Linked DNA regions of Homo sapiens: region 2 is linked to region 1. Evidence: promoter capture Hi-C in 16 types of primary human blood cells and fetal thymus (Javierre and others, 2016). All regions are on one chromosome and are shown on one strand. The core of a region is centred on a gene start or on the middle of the fragment in contact, and the rest is flanking DNA. Distances in the headings are between cores, read along the strand shown.

The links. The method cuts DNA at HindIII sites, captures the fragments that hold promoters and counts their contacts. A CHiCAGO score of 5 or more calls a contact.
Region 2: a fragment that was not itself captured here is called in contact with the fragment with the promoter of AHSG in region 1 in 1 of 17 cell types (activated CD4 T cells); the score reaches 5.2 in activated CD4 T cells.

Annotation. Positions count from the first base shown.
Region 1 is chr3:186,610,487-186,615,384 of GRCh38, reverse strand. AHSG (alpha 2-HS glycoprotein) reads right to left here and starts at 2,325. Exons shown (of 7, transcript NM_001622.4): 1 at 2,031-2,325. The coding sequence starts at 2,243. The HindIII fragment of the contact is 5,898 bases long and covers 1-3,510 here.
Region 2 is chr3:186,101,530-186,106,427 of GRCh38, reverse strand. ETV5 (ETS variant transcription factor 5) reads left to right here. Exons shown (of 13, transcript NM_004454.3): 2 at 486-604; 3 at 716-803; 4 at 932-979; 5 at 1,073-1,123. The coding sequence starts at 560. Among named protein-coding and RNA genes, the nearest start is that of ETV5, 5.1 kb to the left of the region's middle. The HindIII fragment of the contact is 1,025 bases long and covers 1,701-2,725 here.

The sequences.
Region 1 (4,898 bases), core at 1,076-3,575:
TTTGAAAACTACAAATGGGTGTTAACACTTATTTGTATTTATTATTTATTTAATTTTTTAAGATTTCACTCTTCAAGCAGTGCTTTGGAAAATGCAAGTTTGGATTTTTCTCAGACAAGCTGCAAAATAAGGTGGTGTAGGGTAATATCTTACTGTCTTTTTTTAATCTCCTCTATCCCTCCCTCTCCTTCTTTCTTTCTTCCTTTTCATTATTTGCTTTCCTTCCTTCCTCCGTTTTCTTTTCCCTCCTAGAGGTTTTTGCTGCTGTTGTCCTTGGTTTTTCCTTTGTCTTGGCTTGTGCAGCAGGTGCCGGCATGCAACGATGCTGCTCTCTACTTCCCCCTGCTGGCGATAATGGGGAAGGGCATGTCTCCCTCTGACAGGAAACTGGATGTCACTAGTGTAGACACGAGGGAGCTTGCAACAATCCTTGGAGATATTCTTGTGAGTTCACCTGTTTCTGTATCTTGTCTTCGAAGCCTGAAAAATCCAGAAGGTACAAGTATGCCTTTTCTCCTCTCAGCCCAGCTCTGTTTGCCTCTCATTGGTTCTGCCTGATTCACTAGTACCTGAAGCCTCAGCATCCCCTCCCCTGGGAGAAGCTCCGCATTTTATGATGTCCAGGTGTGCCCAGAGTGACTGCCTGAAAGCGTTCACAGCTCTGGCGAACAGGAACCGGGTACACCTGGGTTTCTCAAGGGAACCAACTCTGAAGCTCTGCCTTTAGTAAAAGTCACAATGCCCATTCATGATTACCTTTTCCCTCAGATGTGCGTGTTGCGTGTTCATTTCCCCTGACTTGATCAGCGTTTCCTCCTAACCACCACTGTGCTTTAATATGGCTGCAGCACTCTTAAAATCCATCCGGAGCAATCCTGATTTCAAATATTTTGTCTCTTTGTGAGACGGATGGCAGTCGTCAGTCGGTCCAGGCTTCCTGTTGTTGACCTTATTTTCCAACCTAGATTGTAAGCTCTTGTGGGCACATATTGTGCCTTTTTCACCACTGTATTAGGTTGAACCATTAAAACGGCCAATATTTGGTTGCTTTTGATATAGAAAAATGGCAGTTTTATATGGTTCAACCTAATATCTCTGGTTCTTGTCCAAGGAAGGCTTGTAATACATATTTGCTGAAAGAATTGTCCTTAATCAGAAATAAATCTAATTTCAAAACAGGCAGTAGGCAGACAGCTTCTTTCCACCTCTCCAAATCTCTTGACTGATCCCCGAGGCATATTTCCAGCTTGATTTTTCTTGTCACTGGCTTCAAGCTGCGTTGGTTTCCTGTCTAGTGTGTGAGGAGGTGAATTGTGTTTATGCCAAGACTTCTCTCTGGGATGTGGGTAACTCTCTTTGGGAGGCAGTTTGTGTAGAAGAAGGAACACAGATATGGAATCAAATCCCAGCCTGAAGACTTAGTAATTATATGATTTTGGACCAAAAAAAAAAAGACAAAAACAAAAAACAAAAAAACTGCACACACACACACAACAGAGCCTTGGTCTCCTCTTGGGTAAGACAAGAACAATATATGTACCACACAGCACCAGGAGGCAGGACCGGGAAAGAGTAAATGAGATAATCTATGTGAATGGGCCTGGCATATAGTAGGCATCTGCCAGATGCTAGTTTTATTCATTCTCAGTCTTTGTTAGAGAGAAACCAAACCAAAGACAGATACGTGATTTTCAGCCAGTGGTAACTTGGCAACTAGGAGCTGGTCTCTTGGGTCCTAGTTTTTCCAGCAAGTTACACTTTCTGTCTGTGATCTGCACACTACCATTTGAAGCACTTTTTCTCCTGCACACCACCTCACACCCCACCCAGCTCCCTCCTGACACCCATGACTGCCATACAGAATGTCTCCTCTCCTGCCCTCTGCCTGCCCCTTCCCTCACTCCTGGGAAGAAATCAGAGAATTTACTCCTCTGTGGTTTCATTTGCACTGGGTGATGGTGATTTTTTGAGGCACCTGATTGAGCTCCATGTACACATTATTTCAGCTCATAGACAGCAGGTCCACTTACCTGAGGCCACACCTTTACTTCATCAATCTGGTTCAAGGTGTGTTTGTATCCCCAAGGAAGGTTTTGATTGATGTAGTCTATAGCCACCAGAGCTGCTTCCTCAGTTTCTGGATCATCGCAGTTCGGTTGTCTATAAATCAGCCCTGGGCCATGTGGGGCTGAGTGGCAGCCCCAGAGCTGAGCAAGACAAAGGAGCAGGACGAGGGACTTCATGGCTGCCCCAGAGAGGCCCTGGCAGGCGTGCAGGTGGTTGGAGGCTTCGGGACCAACCCAGGTGCTCTGCTGGGAAAGGTAGACCCATGGAGGGTGGTGGGCTTTATTTATCTGTTGGAGCCTGCCGGAAGAATTGCATAAGGATACAGGATGATTTCTGCTTTGGTTCAAAAGAAAAAAAAAAACACCCTGCAAACATCAGCCCTGGAAAAGCAAACAGGTTAGGACATCGCTGGTCCCCAAGAAATCTGCCAAAGTCCATGCTGCTGTGGGGGAGATGCTCCAAAGTCTGCTTGGAACATGGTAATAGCAGCAAAGAGAAGACAGCTGAGGGAATGAGGTGGACACAGTCAGCCTCAGAGTGCCATGGGTTTGGCAGCAGAGGAAATGTCTTCTACTGTGATCTGAGCATGCCATGGGGTCTGTGAGAGGGAAGGGAGGATACTCAGCAATTTGATAAAATTCTCCAATGTCAGGGGGAGTTAGCTTTCCAAGAGGAGTCCTACAGGGAGAACAAGGCCCACAGATATAGCAAAGGTACAGATGTGTATAGGAGATGCCAAGATTTTGGGGGAAGATTCTTGGAGAAAAGAAAAAGGATGAGAGATGTTTCTGCCTAAAGTGGGGAATGGAGGTGGAAGAAGGGGGTTCCCGTGGCAGGACCACGGTGGGAAATGACCAGCAAAACGTGTGGGGTTCCCTGCCCCTTCTCTTCCTTCTCCAGACCTCACTGCCAGGGCCCTGCATGTGACAGCACAGATGGGCACTGACCAGAGTCTCCTAGCACTAGTAACCTAGTGCCCCTGCCAGTGCACAAGGGCAGCAGAGGGGAGTCCTGACTCATTTGACACAGCTCTGGGTTCGAGTCTGACACCGCAGGCTGAGATGCTGCACGAGCAGCTACGGACACAAATACCCCTTGAACATTCTTTGCAGACTCAGCAGAATTACAGTGTGTCTTTCTGGCCAGAACAGAGGGCCAGTGTTGACTCCAGGCACTGCCTATTAAGTGACCCTTGACAATTCCAAGTGTGACATCCAAGGAGGGTTGGCAGGATAAAGAGAGGCTTGGGAAATATCACACAAGGACCTGGTTTGGTTTAGTCTGAAGCAAAGAAGCCCTCTCATGGAGACCAACATGGTCTTCAAATATTTAGAGGCCATCATTGTGTGTGGGTGAATTTGTTCTAATGTTTGATATTGCTTCAGAGAAAAAAAAACTGGTTAAAAAAAAAAGAAAGAAGAGGGGCCCCTCCAAAGGGAAGCTTAATATTGATTTTCTGGGGTGAGAATCGGGGTGAGGGAGGTGAAGTGAGTGGTGATGGGGCAGAGAAGGTAGTTGGCAGGACTGTTCTCACATTTACTCCCAGCTGCTCACACACCACACCGAATCTTAATGTCAGAAGCTCAGAAGGTGTGGCCAGGACTCCAGGTTCTCTCCAAGAGGGGGACCATGATTCTTCCAGATGAAAAACAAACTCTGGTCATCCAGCAAGATGATCCTCAAAGCCAGGGGCAATCTTCCATCACCTTATACTCCATTTCACTCAGGGCCCTGACTCCTGAACTGTGTGTGGAAGCTATGCTTTTCTTTATATAATCTTTAAAAATATTGAAGGGCTGGGCACGGTGGTTCACACCTGTAATTCCAGCACTTTGGGAGGCTGAGGTGGGCAGATCACGAGGCCTAGAGATTGAGCCCAACCTGACCAACACAGTGAAACCCTGTCTCTTCTAAAAATACAAAAATTAGCTGGGCGTGGTGGCGCGCGCCTGTAGTCCCACCTACTCGGGAGGCCGAGACAGGAGAATCACTTGAACCCAGGAGGTGGAGGTTGCAGTGAGCCAAGATTGCGCCACTGCACTCCAGCCTGGCAACGGAGTGGGACTCCGACTCAAAAAAAAGAAAAATTGAATAAAGTGTGGTAAGGTGGCACACACCTGTAATCCCAACTATGAAGGCAGGATGATAGCATAAGACCTGGAGTAGGCTATGGTTGCAGTGAGCTATGATAGTGCCACTGCACTCCAGCCCAGCCAACAGAATGAGACTCTGTCTCAAAAAAGAAATCATTCACAATCTCATCATGCAGAGATAAACAGTGTTAATGTTTTGATGCATTTATATCTTTTCTTTTTTTCTATGTAAAATAATATTTTAATATAATTTTGATTATACTGCATATACAGCTGTTAAAATTTTTTCACCTATTGCTTTAACTTGAATATTTTCCTATGTCATTAAGTAGACTTAAAAACATGTTTACAGGCCAGGCACGGTGGCTTACACCTGTAATCCCAGCACTTTGGGAGGCCAAGGCAGGTGGATCATGAGGTCAACAGATAGAGAGCATCCTGGCCAACATGGTGAAACCCCATCTCTACTAAAAATACAAAAAATTGGCTGGGCGTGGTGCTGGACGCCTGTAATCTCAGCTACTTGGGAGGCTGAGGCAGGAGAATCACTTGAACCTGGGAGGCAGAGGTTGCAGTGAGGGGAGATTGTGCCACTGCACTCCAGCTTGGGCAACAGAGTGAGACTCTGTCTCAAAACAAAAAACAAAAAAAAACAAAAAAAAAACAAAAAACAAAAAAACAAAAAAACACACTTTTTTATTTAGGAATCTTTGGCTTTTGATTCTTTTTTTCAGGATA
Region 2 (4,898 bases), core at 964-3,463, 510 kb after region 1:
AAATGCTTTTGGAAACACCATGTATGTCAGATCTTTAATTGCCAATAATTTGGAATACTTAAACCCAGTTTCTCTGCTTCCTGACACTGTACTGTCAAAAATTAAATTATCTCTTTTTTAAAAACCCTACTACAAATGCCCTGGAGTATATGAGAGAATCTTGAAATCACCCTTTTATTTTATTTTATTTATTTATTTTTGTTTTGGTAGAGAACAGACAGTAGCAAATCTGTAATTTTAATGATTTAAATAAGAAAGAAAAAATGATGACTGGGTAAATGGATTTGGCACGGAGTACATCCTGTACCTCTGATACCATTAATCAAGCCCGGCATTGGTGTGTAAAGCTTGCACCTTGAGTAGGTTTTAAGTACTTCACAGAAGGGTAATAATTTTGCACAGGCCCTAAAAAAAAGGCAGTCTAAAATTGTTTCATTTCTTTTTTTCCCCCCTCTTAGTTAAAATCTCCCAAATTCATATTACAGGAGGATCCCTTTTCCCCCAGAAATTACTCAATGCTGAAACCTCTCAAAGTGGTATTAGAGACGCTGAAAGCACCATGGACGGGTTTTATGATCAGCAAGTCCCTTTTATGGTCCCAGGGGTAAGTTTATGTGGCTTTTGGTTTGTTTTGTCCTCCCTCTCCAATATGAGTCTTCCCCCTGTGGACCTCTTTACTACACTTGAGCCTTCACTTTCTGTTGGCCTCTTTCAGAAATCTCGATCTGAGGAATGCAGAGGGCGGCCTGTGATTGACAGAAAGAGGAAGTTTTTGGACACAGATCTGGCTCACGATTCTGAAGGTAGTAAAGCTTTCCCTGATTATGTTGTGGCTTCCCTGCTCCCAGTGACAGTAGCGTGTAGATTCTTCCCTGTCTTCTCCCTAGCGAAAGAAATATCCTCATTCTGGGGTCTTCTTTTTCAATTTCAGAGCTATTTCAGGATCTCAGTCAACTTCAAGAGGCTTGGTTAGCTGAAGGCAAGTTTCATGGATGTCCTATTTTCCATATAAAACATTTTACTGTGCTTTTTAATAAAACTTAAAGGTCTAAAATAAAAATCTATTTTCCAGCACAAGTTCCTGATGATGAACAGTTTGTCCCAGATTTTCAGTCTGATAACCGTAAGTACCTTTCTGGTGATGGCACATTTGTTCTGAAATTGTTTGGTCTTAGATCATCCATGTCTAGAATATGCTTTTTTCAGCTATGGCCAGATTTAGACAGTAGTATGCATTTAGTTTCTTCTAATAATTCAGAATTAACCCTGAAAACTTTTATTTCATAATAAAATTATTTCTAAAGTATTTCTACTGTATTGCAGGTAAGATTTACTGAACATAATTTTATCCTAAATTTCTTTTTACCTTAAGAATATTGTAAAGCTGACTGGGCACAGTGGCTCACACCTATAATCCCAGGGCTTTGGGAGGCTGAGGCAGGTGGATCACTTGAGGTCAGGCATTCAAGACCAGCCTGGCCAATATGGTGAAACCCCGTCTCTACTAAAAATACAAAAATTAGCCAGGTGTGGTGGTGGGCGCCTGTAATCCAAGCTACTCAGGAGGCTGAGGCAGGAGAATCACTTAAATCCAGAAGGCGGAGGTTGCAGTGAGCTGAGATCGCATCACTGCACTCCAGCCTGGGCAACAGAGCAAGACTCCATCTCAAAAAAAAAAAAAAAAAGAATATTGCAAAGCTTTAAGCTCAAAATTATAAATTAACTGACAAAATATATTTGGTGTTAGGCCAAGCATCTATTAATCACACATTGTTTTATGGCTTTTTTGGGGTTTGTTTTATAAATTAAGTCCTTGATGTGAATCATGAACCTGATATTTCTCTTTTTCTTAAAGGTGCAGAAAATAGTTAATGGAAAACTCCAGTTAACTTTGGCTTCATCCAACATGTTGTCAATTTTGTCTCTACCCCTAAGCTGACAAGGGGTGGTCACAGAGTGGCCTGATTTACTCTTACTTTTCGTGTAGTTGCTGTGGCTTTTCTCTTCAGAGAAGAGAAACTTTTTCTTAAAATGGCCACTAAGTGCTCATTACTAGAGAGAAAATGCAGTGGGAAGCTCAAAAGATGGCTTTCAACACTGGCAGGGGCATGGTTACTTTGCACTGATCTTTTGGGGCTGTCCTCAACAGGTTTGGGAGCTTTTATGGTCTAGGCAGAGTTATGAAGGACAAAGCCGGCTGATGAAATTTGAGCAGCACAGGGCTGCTCTAGAGAGCATTAGTCACTGGCGAATGAGCAGGTTTAAGAGAGGCCTGGAGAAAATGCTGCCTCTCTTGAGAGTTGCATCATAGAGAAATTCATGTCTCTTAGTCATAGTTTATAATAGCAAGCACCTGAGCCATGCAAGGACTCAATTTCTCATTTTGGACCAACAGATTCTTCCCAGCTTTGTTTTATCTCTGGGTAGGTGGGTGTATGTGTGTAAAAATGCCACTGGAGAGAGAGTATCTTAGGTCTCTCTCTAAGTAAAAAGTTGGGTATTCCAAATCTTTTAAATGTAAGAGCAGAGGTAACAGCTAAACATTCCTTAATGATAGGCCTCATGTCCAAGGCACAATGCCATGAAACTGTAAAAGGGAATAAACTGGAACACACACATGCATGGTTACCTTAGCTTTGTCACAGCTTGCTGTGGATGTGTTCTATGGGAGAGTAAATGCATGTTAATTATTGCCCTTTGATTGCTTTCGAGTGATTGGGAAGCTTGCCACTGAAAGACTAAATAAAGATAATCCAAGTGTGTGTGTGTGTGTGTGTGTGTGTGTGTGTGTGTGTGTGTGTGTGTGTTTGCAAGATGAAAGACAGGGTTTGTAATCCAACTTTGTTCTGTGTTGACAATTTGGCCCAGCCTTTCCAGTTCTTGCTCAGAGCAGCATAAACTGCAGTCTGTTTGGGAGGTGGCTTTCTTGGCAGAGGTTCTTTGAAATGCTTTTATGACACTTTTGTTTGTTTCTCTGTAACCCAAAAGAGTTAAAAGGGAGATGAGATGGCTGCATTCAAATTGATTGCATGTGCTGAAGCAAGGGTATGTTCTTTGTCAGCAAGCAGGATTTATATTTGGAGAGATATTTATCTGTGGGAATAGGCTAAAGTGAAGAAATCAATAAATGTGTTTTGGCTCTTTAGAAATAATTTCTGCTCAGCAAATAGAATGTGCTAAGTTCTTTAATTAAAATTCCATACCTCAAGTGGAGGTAATTTGGGAGATGTTTCTGCTTACCAAGTATGATGTTTTTTTTACTTTGCTTACTTTTTGTTTTAACTGCCTAAGGTTGAGCCTTTCTGTCTTTTAAGGATAAAAGAGATGGTTGACTAGCCTAGAAAAGGTCTTCTAATGATTCTTTCCCTCTGACTTTATTTCTTGAGGTAGAGCTTCAAGAAGGGATAGATTCAAATAGAATAACTTGCTTAAGAAGCAAGGCAAGAACACAAATGTGGGTGGTGCATCTTTGAGCCATTCATTCTTGCAAAAGCAAGTTTGTTTGCCTGCAGTTCAGACCAACAGCCAGAAGCATGAGGAGGAGCTGGCAGAGCCCACAGCCGGCTGCATGCACTTACTTTTCCATGAGCGCTTTCCACAGCCTCGAGTTCAGGACCAGCTTCACTCCAGTCATTTTCTGGAAGAGCTCGTGATTTTTTTCAGGGGAGGGAAGAAAACTCATTCAAATTTAATGAAACCTTATGAGTTGGTTTGACTCACTTAACCAATGAATATAAGCCAAACTTAGATTTGCCAGGGGAAAGCAAACCTTTTTTTTTTTTTTTTTTTTTGGAGAGAGAGTTTTGCTCGTCACCCAGGCCAGAGTGCAATGGCGCAATCTCGGCCCACTTACTGGGATGTCCACGTCCCAGGTTCGAGCAATTCTCCTGCCTAAGCCTCCCGAGTAGCTGGGATTACAGGCACCTGCCACCATGCCTGGCTAATTTTTGTATTTTTAGTAGAGACGGGGCTTCACCATGTTTGCCAGGCTGGTCTTGAACTCCTGACCTCAGGTGATCCGCCCACCTTAGCCTCCCAGAGTGCTGGAATTACAGGCGTGAGCCACTGTGCCCGGCCTGTAACAAATATTCTTACCAGTGGCCACTGGTAATACACTTTCCTATTAATAATGATTTGATAATTTTCCATTGTATATGTGTAAATTTATTGTATACATGAAAGAAAGAGAAATACTAAGAAATGTAGGTAATATTTTTATTTTGGAATGTCAGTTTTAAAGATTATGGCTTTTTTTTTTCTCTAAACACTAAAAGTTCAACTTCTAAAGAGATTATATTTTGTAAGTTTCTTAGAATTGGGTTTCCTGCCCATAGGGATACATCCTTAAGTCTGATTTGAGTGAATGAAACCATTGCTTTTATATCTTATAGAAATGCCCAGCTTACTTCTAGCTGTACAGATTTCACCTCTACCTCACACATATAGATATCAGTAAAGCATGGAGACTCTGAAAGGTCAAATTCAAGGGAATAGAAATCTATAGATCATAGGGATTCTACCAGTGGACCTCATTGTCCCTTGGTCCTAAGAAGTAACTCTGAAGATCTCAGATTGCTTGAGTTGGATGTCCTTTGTAGAGACAAGCTTGCCCAGCCCCCTCCTTTCACAGCTATTCCCAAATAGCTGAAGAGACTGACCAGTAGTGGGGGCAGATGGGAAGGTTTAGGTGAAGTAAGAGGAAGATGTATAAAATAATATTCTTAAAGAAGCTCTCACAAAGCTGCAGAGCCAGGGAGTAGTGGCATATTCAAGTGTATTCAGGGTCTCCATTATTTCAGATACCTGGAGATGGTGTTCAGGAAAGCATCTGGGAGGCCTCTGGCTGTCCAATTCAGCACTCACTTCTCTTCCTTCTATGATCCTGAGAAAGTTACTCA